Regions from separate parts of the Homo sapiens genome. Here regions 1 and 3 are each linked to region 2. Evidence: promoter capture Hi-C in 16 types of primary human blood cells and fetal thymus (Javierre and others, 2016). All regions are on one chromosome and are shown on one strand. The core of a region is centred on a gene start or on the middle of the fragment in contact, and the rest is flanking DNA. Distances in the headings are between cores, read along the strand shown. Region 1 has its middle 57 kb from the start of CHST2. Region 2 holds the start of SLC9A9-AS1 (SLC9A9 antisense RNA 1). Region 3 overlaps SLC9A9 (solute carrier family 9 member A9).

Evidence for each region. The method cuts DNA at HindIII sites, captures the fragments that hold promoters and counts their contacts. A CHiCAGO score of 5 or more calls a contact.
Region 1: a contact is called between a fragment that was not itself captured here and the fragment with the promoter of SLC9A9-AS1 in region 2, in 1 of 17 cell types (M2 macrophages). The highest score is 5.6, in M2 macrophages.
Region 3: a contact is called between a fragment that was not itself captured here and the fragment with the promoter of SLC9A9-AS1 in region 2, in 5 of 17 cell types (naive B cells, M2 macrophages, total B cells and 2 more). The highest score is 7.3, in naive B cells.

Annotation. Positions count from the first base shown.
Region 1 is chr3:143,061,136-143,065,094 of GRCh38, forward strand. No RefSeq gene overlaps it. Among named protein-coding and RNA genes, the nearest start is that of CHST2, 57 kb to the right of the region's middle. RefSeq lists an enhancer at 15-84. The HindIII fragment of the contact is 1,302 bases long and covers 2,033-3,334 here.
Region 2 is chr3:143,340,746-143,344,620 of GRCh38, forward strand. It overlaps SLC9A9-AS1 (SLC9A9 antisense RNA 1), which reads left to right and starts at 1,501. Exons shown (of 4, transcript NR_048544.1): 1 at 1,501-1,539; 2 at 2,605-2,869; 3 at 3,722-3,849. The region is part of intron 14 of SLC9A9 (solute carrier family 9 member A9); the gene reads right to left. The HindIII fragment of the contact is 6,948 bases long and covers 1-3,453 here.
Region 3 is chr3:143,610,565-143,614,814 of GRCh38, forward strand. The region is part of intron 6 of SLC9A9 (solute carrier family 9 member A9); the gene reads right to left. Among named protein-coding and RNA genes, the nearest start is that of SLC9A9, 240 kb to the right of the region's middle. The HindIII fragment of the contact is 3,681 bases long and covers 563-4,243 here.

The DNA.
Region 1 (3,959 bases), core at 1,434-3,933, 280 kb before region 2:
CATCATTCTACTTTCTGTTTCTGAATTTGACTACTCTAGATACAACATATAAGTGAAATCATACAGTATTTGTCTTTTTTTGCGACTGTTTTATTTCACTTGGCATAATATCCTCGAGGTTCATCCATATTATAGCATGTATATTGTTTCCTTTACAAAGCCCACTTTTTCTTTAAGTTTCCATATTATGGAATTTGAAAATGATTTAGCCCAAATGGTTCATTAGTATTTTCTATTTTGAGTAAAAACTTCAAAAGAGAACATGTAATACCAAGTGTATATGCCAACTACTCCACTTTCTTTATTTTTTAACCGTCTTCACTACTTTTTGTGCTCTCTGTTCTCTTTAATGGTTACATATGATGTACTTTGATATCAACACTTCATAGCATGGGGTAAAAAATACACTTTTGAAGCAAACTGATTTTGATATTTTAGTGGATTAGTACTATTGATGACCATACTTGAATGCTTTTTTAGTTTTATGTATTGCCCGATGAAAAGAAAACTTAAAATTTTGACATGTAGTAAACTCACTGATTATTCATTTTGTCACAGAGAAAGGAAAAATAGCTTTTTAAATTTTTTTTCAAGTTATTTTCTCTCATCCTTAGGAAACATAGTGTGTCGAACTGTTTTAGAATAAATAACTTACTTTTGATTTTCAAACGAGATGTGGCATGGCACAATGGTGAAGGAAGAGGAAAGGCCTGGGCCGTGAAGTCATATTTGGATTTGTGTATCAGCTATTCCCTTTTATCACCTAGAAGGAGGGGATATTAACCTTGAATGGTTATTGAAAGGATGAAATCACATGTATATCACTGGCACAGGGTTGTCATACAGTGGTGCTTAGATAAATATTCATTATTCCTGAGAACTAATGGTGGGAACATCTTATAACTAAAACAAGATAAAGAATAACAGTATAATTCCATAGCACTGATACCTTTACAAGATTTCCTTATACTTGATTTGTATTCAGTTAACAGATTTTATAAATAAAGTTGGTGATATGTTGGCATATTTATTGCATATGGAATACCACTTCATAATCTGCTTTCCCAGTGTTTTAGATGACATTTAATTCTTGATCTCCTATGAGAAAAACTATTAAATAGATTTTAAAATATACTTTTTATTAGTTGTCATTTATTATTGTGAATTCCCCTAACCAAAGTTCCTGGAAGGAGGAATCCCATAAAGGAAAATCTAAATGTAAACAGCTGAAATAGGGGATATGTGGAAAAAGCCTGGAGAATAGTATAAAGTGTGATGAAGCACTGGATTCTTTGTCAAAGTTCAAAGTAAAAGAAAAACCTGTACAATTATCAGAGCAGAGCAGCAGTATGCAGTTTTCACAAAATGGGTGGACAGAAAACAATCCTGTAAGAATTAAGAAGAGGGCTAGTATTATGAGTACAACTGAACTCCTGTGTTTTGTGTATGTTTGCAAGTTACAGTTTGTATTTTCAGATTATTCAAGAATAAGAAATGTACCCTAAAATTACTTTTAGAGTAGAGTTCAAACCATACGGAATTTGGAAAGGAAATTACAGTTTAAATTCAATTCAGAAATTAACCGCTTTGTAGTAACGTCCTCAGGACACATCAAGTTCTTTGGAGTTCTCACAACTGCACAAATGTAAATCTGGAAGAGCACAACTTTGATTAGAAATACTCTTTCGTCCTCCAAATAGCTGAAACATTGTCTTTGGAAAGAATAAGCACCTTGCTATATAGTTTGGCTACCTAGGCCACTAAATATTCTTATTACATGAGGGTGGTATTAGATGATTGATATGGTTTCGATGTTTATTCCCTCCAAATCTCATGTTGAAATGTAATATTCCCAGTGTTGGAGGTGGGGCCTGGTGGGAGGTGTTTGGATCATTGAGGCAGATCCCTCATGATTGGCTTGGTGTGGTAGTTCACATGAGATCTGGGGGGAGCGTAGCACCTCCCCCATCTCTCTTGTTCCTGCTGTTCCCATGCAATATGCCTGTTCTCCCTTTACCTTCCACCATGACTAAGCTTCCTGAGGCCCTCACCAGAAGCAGATGTCAGCACCATGCTTCCCATACAGCATGCAAAACCGTGAACCAAAATAAACCTCTTTGTTTATAATTTGCCCAGCCTTGGGTATTTCTTTAGAGCAATGCAAAATGACCTAATTGTTTTTGTTTCAGCATATTTTGTTTTATTGCACTGTGCAATAGCTACTGGATGTGAGGGGTTTATTAAAAACTTCTAGAAAAATGCTTTTCAGATGGCTTTTGGCCGTGCTAACATTTTAATAAAGGATCTGTCATATCCTTCTAGAAACGTAAGCAGTCTCTCTCACAGGATGTAGAAAGGTATCAAAAGCCAAAAAACATTCTATGTAGCTATTTTATATTTTCTAATCACAATAACATTTAGCTAACATGAACTTAAACTGTAAATTTCAAAGTTACATATTATGTATAGCTTACATATTTCATAGGATGCTTATCCTCAACTTTGGATACATCTTATCTGAAGAATGTGTTCTCCCCAGAAAAATACGTAGCATGTCTAATTCTGTGCCAAATACTATATATGTGTAAGTTCCACAAAGCAAAAATATCAAGTATTTCTCAAGAGACATTTACATCTAAAAATACTGTTTTAATTCTGAATTGATTGCCCTGAAAGCATGTGTAATTTGCCTTAAATATTAGGTAGGTTAGAGAAAGTCTTTAAGCAGGGACTGATCTTTGTGCTTGTTTGTTCTCATGACTGACATGACCTGGAACTTGTAAAAACTCAGAATATTCTTTATTTGCATGTATTTTGTAATAAAAGTATTATTTATCTTGCCTATTATGTAATAAAACCATGACTAATAATGTATGAAGAATGAGAGAACAGTTTGGTGTTAAGGTAAAGAATTACTGTCCACTGTATATTTCAGAGCCTATAATGCCATTCATAAGTTGCAGAACTCAACTGTCTAGGTGAGTTTAGTGTATTTCTAGAATAGTTTATCTTAAAATATTCTTCATGGTGAACAATCAGCATATATACTGATATTGTCCTCCCAGTGAGTGATTCTCTTCAAGTGCCATAGTGAAATTCAAAATATTAGCTACACAATCACCACTTCGTAGCTTTCCTTGTATCTCACATGTCCATATATAACTTAGATTATAGGGAAAAAGCCTTCAAGCTATTTTAGTGCCCAAGTGTACTCATACATACCCTTCTTTATTCCACACTTGGGCCCTTTGTCAAGAGTCCTTGCATAGCACCCACTTGATATGTCCTTGCATAGCACCCACTGGACATCCAAGGACCCTTGAGGGCCTTGCAAAGCTTATGACTTATGACTGTATGGAACATGGTTTACCTCTGGTGAAACAGACCGTTTTGATGAAAATAGAGGAGGATGTAATAAACTTTTGAAGAAAATAGAGGACTTGCCCTGGCCTACTTGCCTCTTCTGATTGCCTTGCAATGCATTTATTCTCCACTTTCTCTGCAACGTTTAGTTCTTTCCTTGCAGAGTGTTGGAGACAAGGTAAACGTGATCAGCTGCCTGGTCTTGGGTAAGGTGGTATTTTCTCTCTGTTAAATTTGTACAGATTCTTACGTTTGACTGAAACACTGCCCAATGCAAAAAGAAAGACTGGGGCAAAGAGATGAAATATTAGATATAATTACTTTCATAATCTTATATGTAAATAAATCTAGTTGCCAAACCTCAGGATCTTTGAGTTCTTCGGTTATTTTTTGTGGAATGTGATTTCCGTAGATTAATTTTGGACCTTGATCATCTTTAATGAATCTAGATGAGCTCATACAGAGCTTGAAAAGACAAAGTTCACAAAAGCAGAGTGCCTCTTTGAAAACCTGGCTTTTTGTTTTGCGTGGCCCAGCGGGACTTGCCCAACCATAGAACAAAATACCTGGACTCCAGAGATCCAAAGACTCCCTTC
Region 2 (3,875 bases), core at 251-2,750:
GGTCAGGTCTTATCTCCACTCACTAAAGATTCTCTTAACATCCAGAAATCTATCTCCAGACACCCTTTTATGTGCTCTTTCTAGAATGACAATATAAATGAGTTGGTACAAGAAATGTGAAAAAGAGAGATTGGAAATCTATTGAAATTTGCTAGTCATTAGTGCAGAAGGCTTTATTCACTTCCACATATTTTCTGCATTTAGGATCACCTGAACTTTATCACTTTTGCTGGTAGCAGAACAATTAAGCTGAATAGGACACTTAATTCTAAGAAAGTTCTAAAGAAATCTTTAAAATTTTTAAGACTATCCCTCTCACTATCCTTTAGGCTGAAAGTCTGTCCAAATGTCTTTTGGCACTTATGTGGAATATGATGAATTCCTTTCGCTGGATGTATCTCAGGATAGCATTAATTTGGTGTGATCGGGAGGTGAATTTCTTTAGGATCTTTTTCACTGTTCATGTGCTGTTTTGCAGTTCCTTTGGAGTAGTGGGGGCTTAAGGGGGCTTAGCTTTCATAAACTTTTGGTCTTGAGAATATATACCTGAGATGGGGTCGGTTTGGGAGCCTCCAATGCCTGTCAATTTGGGAACTCCAGAGTAGGATTTTATAAAAATAATCATCCATTCATAACTGTATTGAGTTACAAGGGAGGGCAAGAGAGTCATCCCAGGTCATAGTCATACAATGTAAATTTAGACCAAGGGATGAAACGTGTTGGAGAACACCCTGCAATAATCATTATTGGGTATCTGTGAATTTAACACACTTTTCAGAATGGGACAAGTTGCTTGCCACGGTAGGAAAAGCTGTGCCAAATGTTTGAGGAGAAATGTGGAGAGGAATAACATTAGCTTCAGATACCAAATTGCAAGTTAAACTTCCTGAGGATTTCCCGAACCCTGTTCAAATAAATTAAAATTTTGTTTACCAAAATGACTCCGATATGCAAATACAGAACACAGTGTTATATAGGTGCTAGGGACTGAAATTTTTTACAATCATATAATTTATTGTAATACTTAATATTATGATAAGACCGTTAATTTATCATATTTTCCCTGTAGTGTTTACTCACATGGACGGGGATAGATCCAGATTTCATGAAGTCTGAAGGTTACCTAATTTTGGAGGCTATTCTTAATAAAAAGAATGCACACTTTTGAATATCAACACTGGTCCCTTACAAAGGACCCATGCAGATGAAGAGCCCTGAAAGCTGAGTTTCATTGATTCCGGGTGAAACTACCTCTGGATGTGGAGCTGTGTTATGGGAATACCGCATCACAGTCAGGACCCAGCTCTGCTGCCGCCTCAGTAGGAGGCAAAGGTGGAAACGTGGAAACTATGGTTATAAGGTTCATACTTTACTGACCATCATTGAAGCTGCTTGTTGGGTCCCTTAGGAAGGGATCTCTCAATGAAACAAACATTAGAGCTTCTTATTTTTTTTTGAGACAGTGTCTAACTCTGTCACCCAGGCTGGAGTGCAGTGGCACCATCTTGGCTCACTACAACCTCTGCTTCCTGGATTCAGGTGATTCTCCTACCTCAGCCTTCTAAGTAGCTAGGATTACAAGGCATGTGCTACCATACCGAGCTAATTTTTGTATTTTTAGTAGAGACAGGGTTTTGCCATATTGGCCAGGCTGATCTTGAACTGCTGACCTCAAGTGATCCACCCTTATGACCAGCAGACCCTGATCTAAGAAGCTAGATGATTCCTCATGAGGTCACTTATAAACCTTATTGCTGATGTATTTCAGTTTATTTATTGGACTATCTTAGATTTTAAACACCCCACCCAATGCCACCATCTATGTAGCAACTAGAGCAGGACTCACAAATAAAATAACCTTCAAGGCCAAACAGCTTCCAATAGCCAGATTTGTCAAGATTAACTTAAGGTTTTAAAATTAGGCAATGCTTGTAGACACAAACCACTGTGGGCACCATAAAATATCACCTTATTTCAAAAGACTGAGAAAACTGAAAATGACCTGAAAAATTCCTATTGAGTGATCTATTTAATCACTCAGGTGGGGTATGGTGTATCTGGTGCATGTTCAACCTCAGGTGCAGGTGCATGTGCATGCAAATATACACGCGCCACGCTTTTAACCATGCATCTCTCTTTGAAAAGATCATTCCTTCTTTCTTATCTATATGTGAACAAATTGTCAAAACAACCTCAAATGCTAGATGATATAATCCCCAAATGCTAGTAATATAAAAATGACTGTAATAATACAAGTGATATCATTGCTATACATAGCACCACACTTTTACTGTTTCTCAAATCTACAACTATCCTATTTTCTAGTGTTTGTTTATTTCTTTATTCACTGAAATGACTGATATGGGCAGTTTAGACACCCAGAGGAGGAGATAATGGTTTTGATTGTGCTAGATGGTTTGACTCTGCTGAGTGTATCCTATAGACTTAATACCAACAGAGGTCATGGATATTTTTTTCCCACTTCTTTTCCTCTTTATTGTTAAGGAGACTAATTGTGTGTGAGTGTATGACAGGAAATGTTTTGATTTTTTTGTAGTGGCAAGAACAGGAGGGCATTCTTTTAAACATCTTTTCATTTTCTAGGCAAAGCGTGGGAATGGAGGATGAGAGATAGTCAATTTTCAGAATAAGATGTTCTACCAAGATGTAAAGAGGGGAAAAAAAGTAACTTTCAACAGCTAGGCAAGAACTGCCACAAGCAGTAGTCGAAAAAATCAACGGCATGGTTTCCTAATGTGGTCTTGGATTCAGCAAGAAAATACTACAGAGAGAAAACTGCAGGAGTCCCTATTTTGTCCCCTCAAAATGAATTAAATGGTCTAGTGGAAGCTGAAGGACTCTGAAGATGGTGAGTCTACCACTGATTCTTCAGATGGTGTCAAAGATGATTCCTGGTTAGGTATAAAAAGCAGCACTTTTAGTCTGCTATTCATACATTAAAAATGACAGAGAATATACACCTAGAATATTTACCTAGTACTGCTGCCTTGGAAACATGGTTCTAGGTCTCAGGAGTTTCCCAACAAGGAGTCTTTGTGCTCTTGAGACCTCAACAATGTACTGAGCTGACTACCTCAGCAATATTCTATCTAAACTAACACCCAGGTATAGTGATCAATGGTCTAACCAGCTTGCAAGTTATGGCTGAAATAGTGGTTTACCTATCAAATCCATGTAACTCCCAGAATAATTATGATTCTATCTTTTGGGCTGGCAATTATTTAAATAAAATATTATTTACAAAGGAAACAGCAGGGAGAAGAATCATGTAAATTAGATTCATTAAGTGGACAGATTCACTTACAGTTCATTTTGGAATAATTTATGCCAGTTTTCTCTGATGTCATCTGTTGTTCAGGTTAACAATTAGCTCATTATTAACTGACAAAGGTTACTTTGTGTATTGGCAGAGGAAGGCATATTATTTGGGAAAGCTTCTATGACTACCGAGCTTTCATATGGGTGCAAGAGTTTATTTGCAAAAATCCAGCTCTTATTTTCTCAAACAATTCAATATCCTGATGCATATATCTCTGTATTCTCAGGAGGCTTTGCAGAGGAATATATTTCTCTTTGCTAGTGTATAAGCAGTCAAGACTAAAAGAGAATAGGGCAAAATATTCATTCCAACTCTGTATTACTCTCTGCTTTGAACTAAAGATAATATTTTCTAATATATTAAGAGACACCTCTTTTACAGGCCAAGTTACAGATCTCTTAAAAAATCCAATATGATGATGCCCATTTACAAAATTTTATGATGAGAAAATTAACTTTAAAACTCTTTTACAACTCTACCAAATGTAAGAAATATATGTCCCTAAGAAGGTAAGGCATTAGTCCATTTGGACCTT
Region 3 (4,250 bases), core at 1,153-3,652, 270 kb after region 2:
AGGCTTTCCTCTCTTGAAAACTAAACCAAAAAGGTTCTGGACTAAGGACAACAGGCATGGAGGGAGCAGGAGTGGGATGCAGCCCTGACTACAGGTTGGTGAAGTGAAATCCATAGAACGAACTGTGAGAACCCCAGACCCCTTTCCACACAGGGCTCCCAGAATGTTGGCATTCAACTTAAACCTCCTATGAGAGAAATTATCTGGAGAAATAGACTGGTTCACAGATAATGAGATTTAGAGGTGCCTTCAAATAAAGGCCAGATTTCTTAGTTATCCTACAGTGAGGCTCACCAGTTGATGAGCTTAGAACTTGCCCCTGCTCCAGTCCCTCTTTCTTTTTCACCTCCCTCTTAAATACGGTTACTCAGTCTGGGCTTTCTACAGAAGTGAGGAAAAACAGAATCAAAAGGACCGAAAAAAAAATTGCAGAAAGCAAACACAATTTAAGGTGCCAAAAAAAACTTCCAAAAACTATTATCAATATTTTCAGAGGCAAGAGAAGATATTGCATTCATGTAAGGGCATAGAAGGCTAGAAAAAAATTTCAGAAAAACAAAAAAGCTTTTAGAAATAAAAATACAAGGATTGAAATGAAAATTTCAAAATTGGAACATAAAGTTGGGGAAATCTTCCACAAAATATTTATATTGATAGAATATAGATAAAAAGATGTTTGAGTGAGTGATATAAAGAATTGAAAAGCAGAAGAGAAAAGATGAGATCACATCAGTTGGTCCAATATTTTTACTAAATAGGTTCCATAAGAAAGAGAAGAGAGAAAAGATGAAATTATCAAAGGAATGGCATGAGAAAATTTTCCACATTACAAGATATGAATTTCTAAATTGAAGGGCCCAAACATGAAACATGATGAGTAGAAACGAGCATTATACCAGACACATTATTGTGATATTTCAATATAAAATAAAGATAAGAGTCTAAATGATTTCTTGAGAGACAAAAGATAAATCACAAATGCAGTGATAAAAATCATACAGCAGTAGATTTCTGAAAACAGCACTGAAAACTAGAAGACAATAAAATATGTCTTAATTACAGCCTGGGAGCCTGAATAAAAATAATAGGTAGACTCAGAGTGGATCTTGGATGGAAGGTCAAGAAATCAAGTATAATAATGTTATACAAAGTAACTGGAGATTAAAGGAAAGAACCCCCTTATTTTTGAGACAGGGTCTCACTCTGTCACTCAAGTTGGAGTGCAGTGATCCGATCATGGCTCACTCCAGTCCCGACCTCCTGGGTCTAAGTAATCTTCTTGTCTCAGCCTCCTGAATAGCTAGGACTACAGGAACACACCACCATACCTGGCTAATTAAGAAAAAAAATATTTAGAGATAGGGTCTCACTATGTTGCCCAGGCTAGTCTCAAATTCCTGGGTTCAAATGTCTCAAGCCAAAGTGTTGGGATTACAGACATAAGCCACCATGCCTGGCCTAGGAAACTTTGAAGTTAAAGCCTTGGGTCAGTCATCAATGTCAGAAACATCTTAAAGAATGGATAGTGAGTACTAGACTTAGCCAAGATAGCCTCTTAGCTTGCCCCTATAGAGGGTGGGTCTCTACAGAGAGGCGTTGACCCTATTCACCTGCACAGACAGTGATTGCCATTGTCAGTGTCAAGTTTGAAGAGAAATAGATGTCACTACAGCAGCATAGCAGTTAAACTTTGCATTTTCAACCTTTTTCTTTCAAAGTCTCAAACCCTGAACCAACATGAACTTTCATGAGTGCAACCCATTTAAACGGAATATTGTCTGGGAGGAAGAACCAAACTCCATGCAATCCTAGTGTCCTCAGACAGTCTCTCTCTCACTTGTGGGATAACCCTAAGTGAATAAGAGCTGGTGTGACTTGAGCTCACATTGATCTTCAGGGTGGTACCCCTGTGCTCCAACATGTTTCCAAGAGGCGTCTGGGTATTCGGATGCCAGACCACCAACATGGATGCCTGATCGAAAGCAGAGGTAAGTAATTGCTTCTCTGAAGTGATTTCAAGTTTCTCCAACAGAACTATGTGTATTTTCATTTCATAGTATCCCTTTATTTATAGCAAAACAGACCAAAATACCTGCAACTAGTCTGAGCCGATTTGAAATGACAGGTATGGGAATTCCCAGTTGAATTCACACCAAGCTACATTTTCATACATCCCTAAGGGCAAATTTTGTGACATCTCTCACCAGAATGTTCCAGCCTGCCAGATAGAGGTGAATACTGTGATTTCAACTTGAATATTACACATAAACAAAAAGAATTATCTCAATAGCAACTTGCTTAAAGAAGCATCTTATAAACCTGAAGCACTTTAAGAACACTAAATTGGACTGATATGGATTTTTTCCCCTAATGTAGAAAGATATATATTAAAAAAAGGCCACAGCAGGGGCTGAAATATGTGACAAACAATTTGGAAACAGCTGTGCTGATTGTAATAGCCTCCCAATAACATACTGCTTGTATTTTCTTCTCAGTTTGATTCTTTGACTCCAGGAAGTACTGGAAAGATACAAAACATTTTTCTATGGCAAACTGCTTTTAATATGATCAATTACCTTTCCATCTTTATGCTGGGCTATGGTTTAAATTGCATGATTAATCTTTAACTCAAAGAGGTCTGAGGTGTGCTCTGTTTTTCTCCCTTTCTTTCTTTTCAAAAAGCATCTTAGAATTAAACAAAAATGTGAAAAAGGAATTTCAAATATCTATAGCAAGTGGTTTAATTTTTTAGCAACTATAGATGTTAGCTTACTGAAAAGAAAATTAAGACTGTTGTGAAACAGTCTGTGACTTTTATATGTTTAAAGCTCTGGCAACCAGAATCTCCAGAATATGTTGAAACTTCTCAAATTTTGCAATCCAGTTTTATGACCACAAAATCTTCCAGAAAGGTATGTTAAGTGCTTACCAGGTAGTATTAACTAGTAGTAAGTCTGGTATTTCTTACATTTTAAAAATAATCTGGAATTTGTTTTCATGTAAGGTCTGATGGTAGAATTATAACTTTCTTTTGTTTTTTTATAATTGGACAGCTAAATGGCTCAACTTCATCTCTTTCCTCTCTTCTCACTGAATTATAATGCCACTTTTAAACACGGAGTACATGTGCAAAAGTGTCCACAGACATGCCTCTCTTTTTTTTTTTCTGAATGTCCTATTCTATTCATTTGACCTCTCCATTCCTATCCTCATACCACATTGCAATAATTATAATTTTTTATTCCATTATTCTTTCTACTGCTAAATTGCTTTAGACCTTATTGTAACTCATTTATTCTTTCATATGAAATTAAAATAATGTTGTCCATTCTAGAAAAAAATAGCTCTATTATTCTTATGGGAATTGAATTACATTTTAAAATTAATTTTGGGAAAATTAGCACTTTTAATATTGAACTTTCCTATCCAACAACATAGTGTATCTCTCTTCTATTCAAATGTTATAATTTCTTTCCTACAGATTCTTTATGTTACCTCTGCTGTGCTTTTAGTTGTCCCTCAGCTCCACAGCAGAAACACATCATCTGAATGAAACTTAGTCCTTCCTTAGTTTCCTCTGGGAGACTTCACCAAGGCAGGCAATAAGGGTACCATCTCTGAGGGTTAAGACAGGTATTTCTAGCATTTCCTAGGCTCAATTTCATGTTCCTGTTTCTGGTTAGCTCTCTACACAGGTTGTGTACTCATTTTTGCTATGCCTGTATCAATTTTTGATCCTTTTTCTCCCTCTCACCCTTGCTATGCATCATTTGGCAAGCTGTATATTTAGTCCTTTGATCAGTGCCTTGATTTGATCAGGCTTGCAACCATTTCTGCCTCTCTTTCATACTGAGCCACAAAGCATATTCAAGGATATGTCCGGCTTGGGGGAAAATAGGCTGTACAGAGCTCTCTTCAGATTCCAGGCACTTTAATTCATAGTTCTCCAACAGACAATAGAGTACATCTTACTGACTGCCTAATAAAAAGAGGAGAAATTGCCCTCTGAATGTGCTATAATTGGATCATGTCTTTACTCTCATGGTATTCAATAGGGATCCAAGATGATATAAGGTTTTTTATCTCTCTATTAGTGTGAGACAGATATAAACCACAGTTAGGAAATCAGAAACTTTCCACTCCCATGATGGGGAATCGAATGAACAATTCAGATTCCACATTTATGGTAACCTTTTATGTATCAGGTGGAGTACTCGGTGTTTTCTGAGATATTATCTGACTAAGCTTTT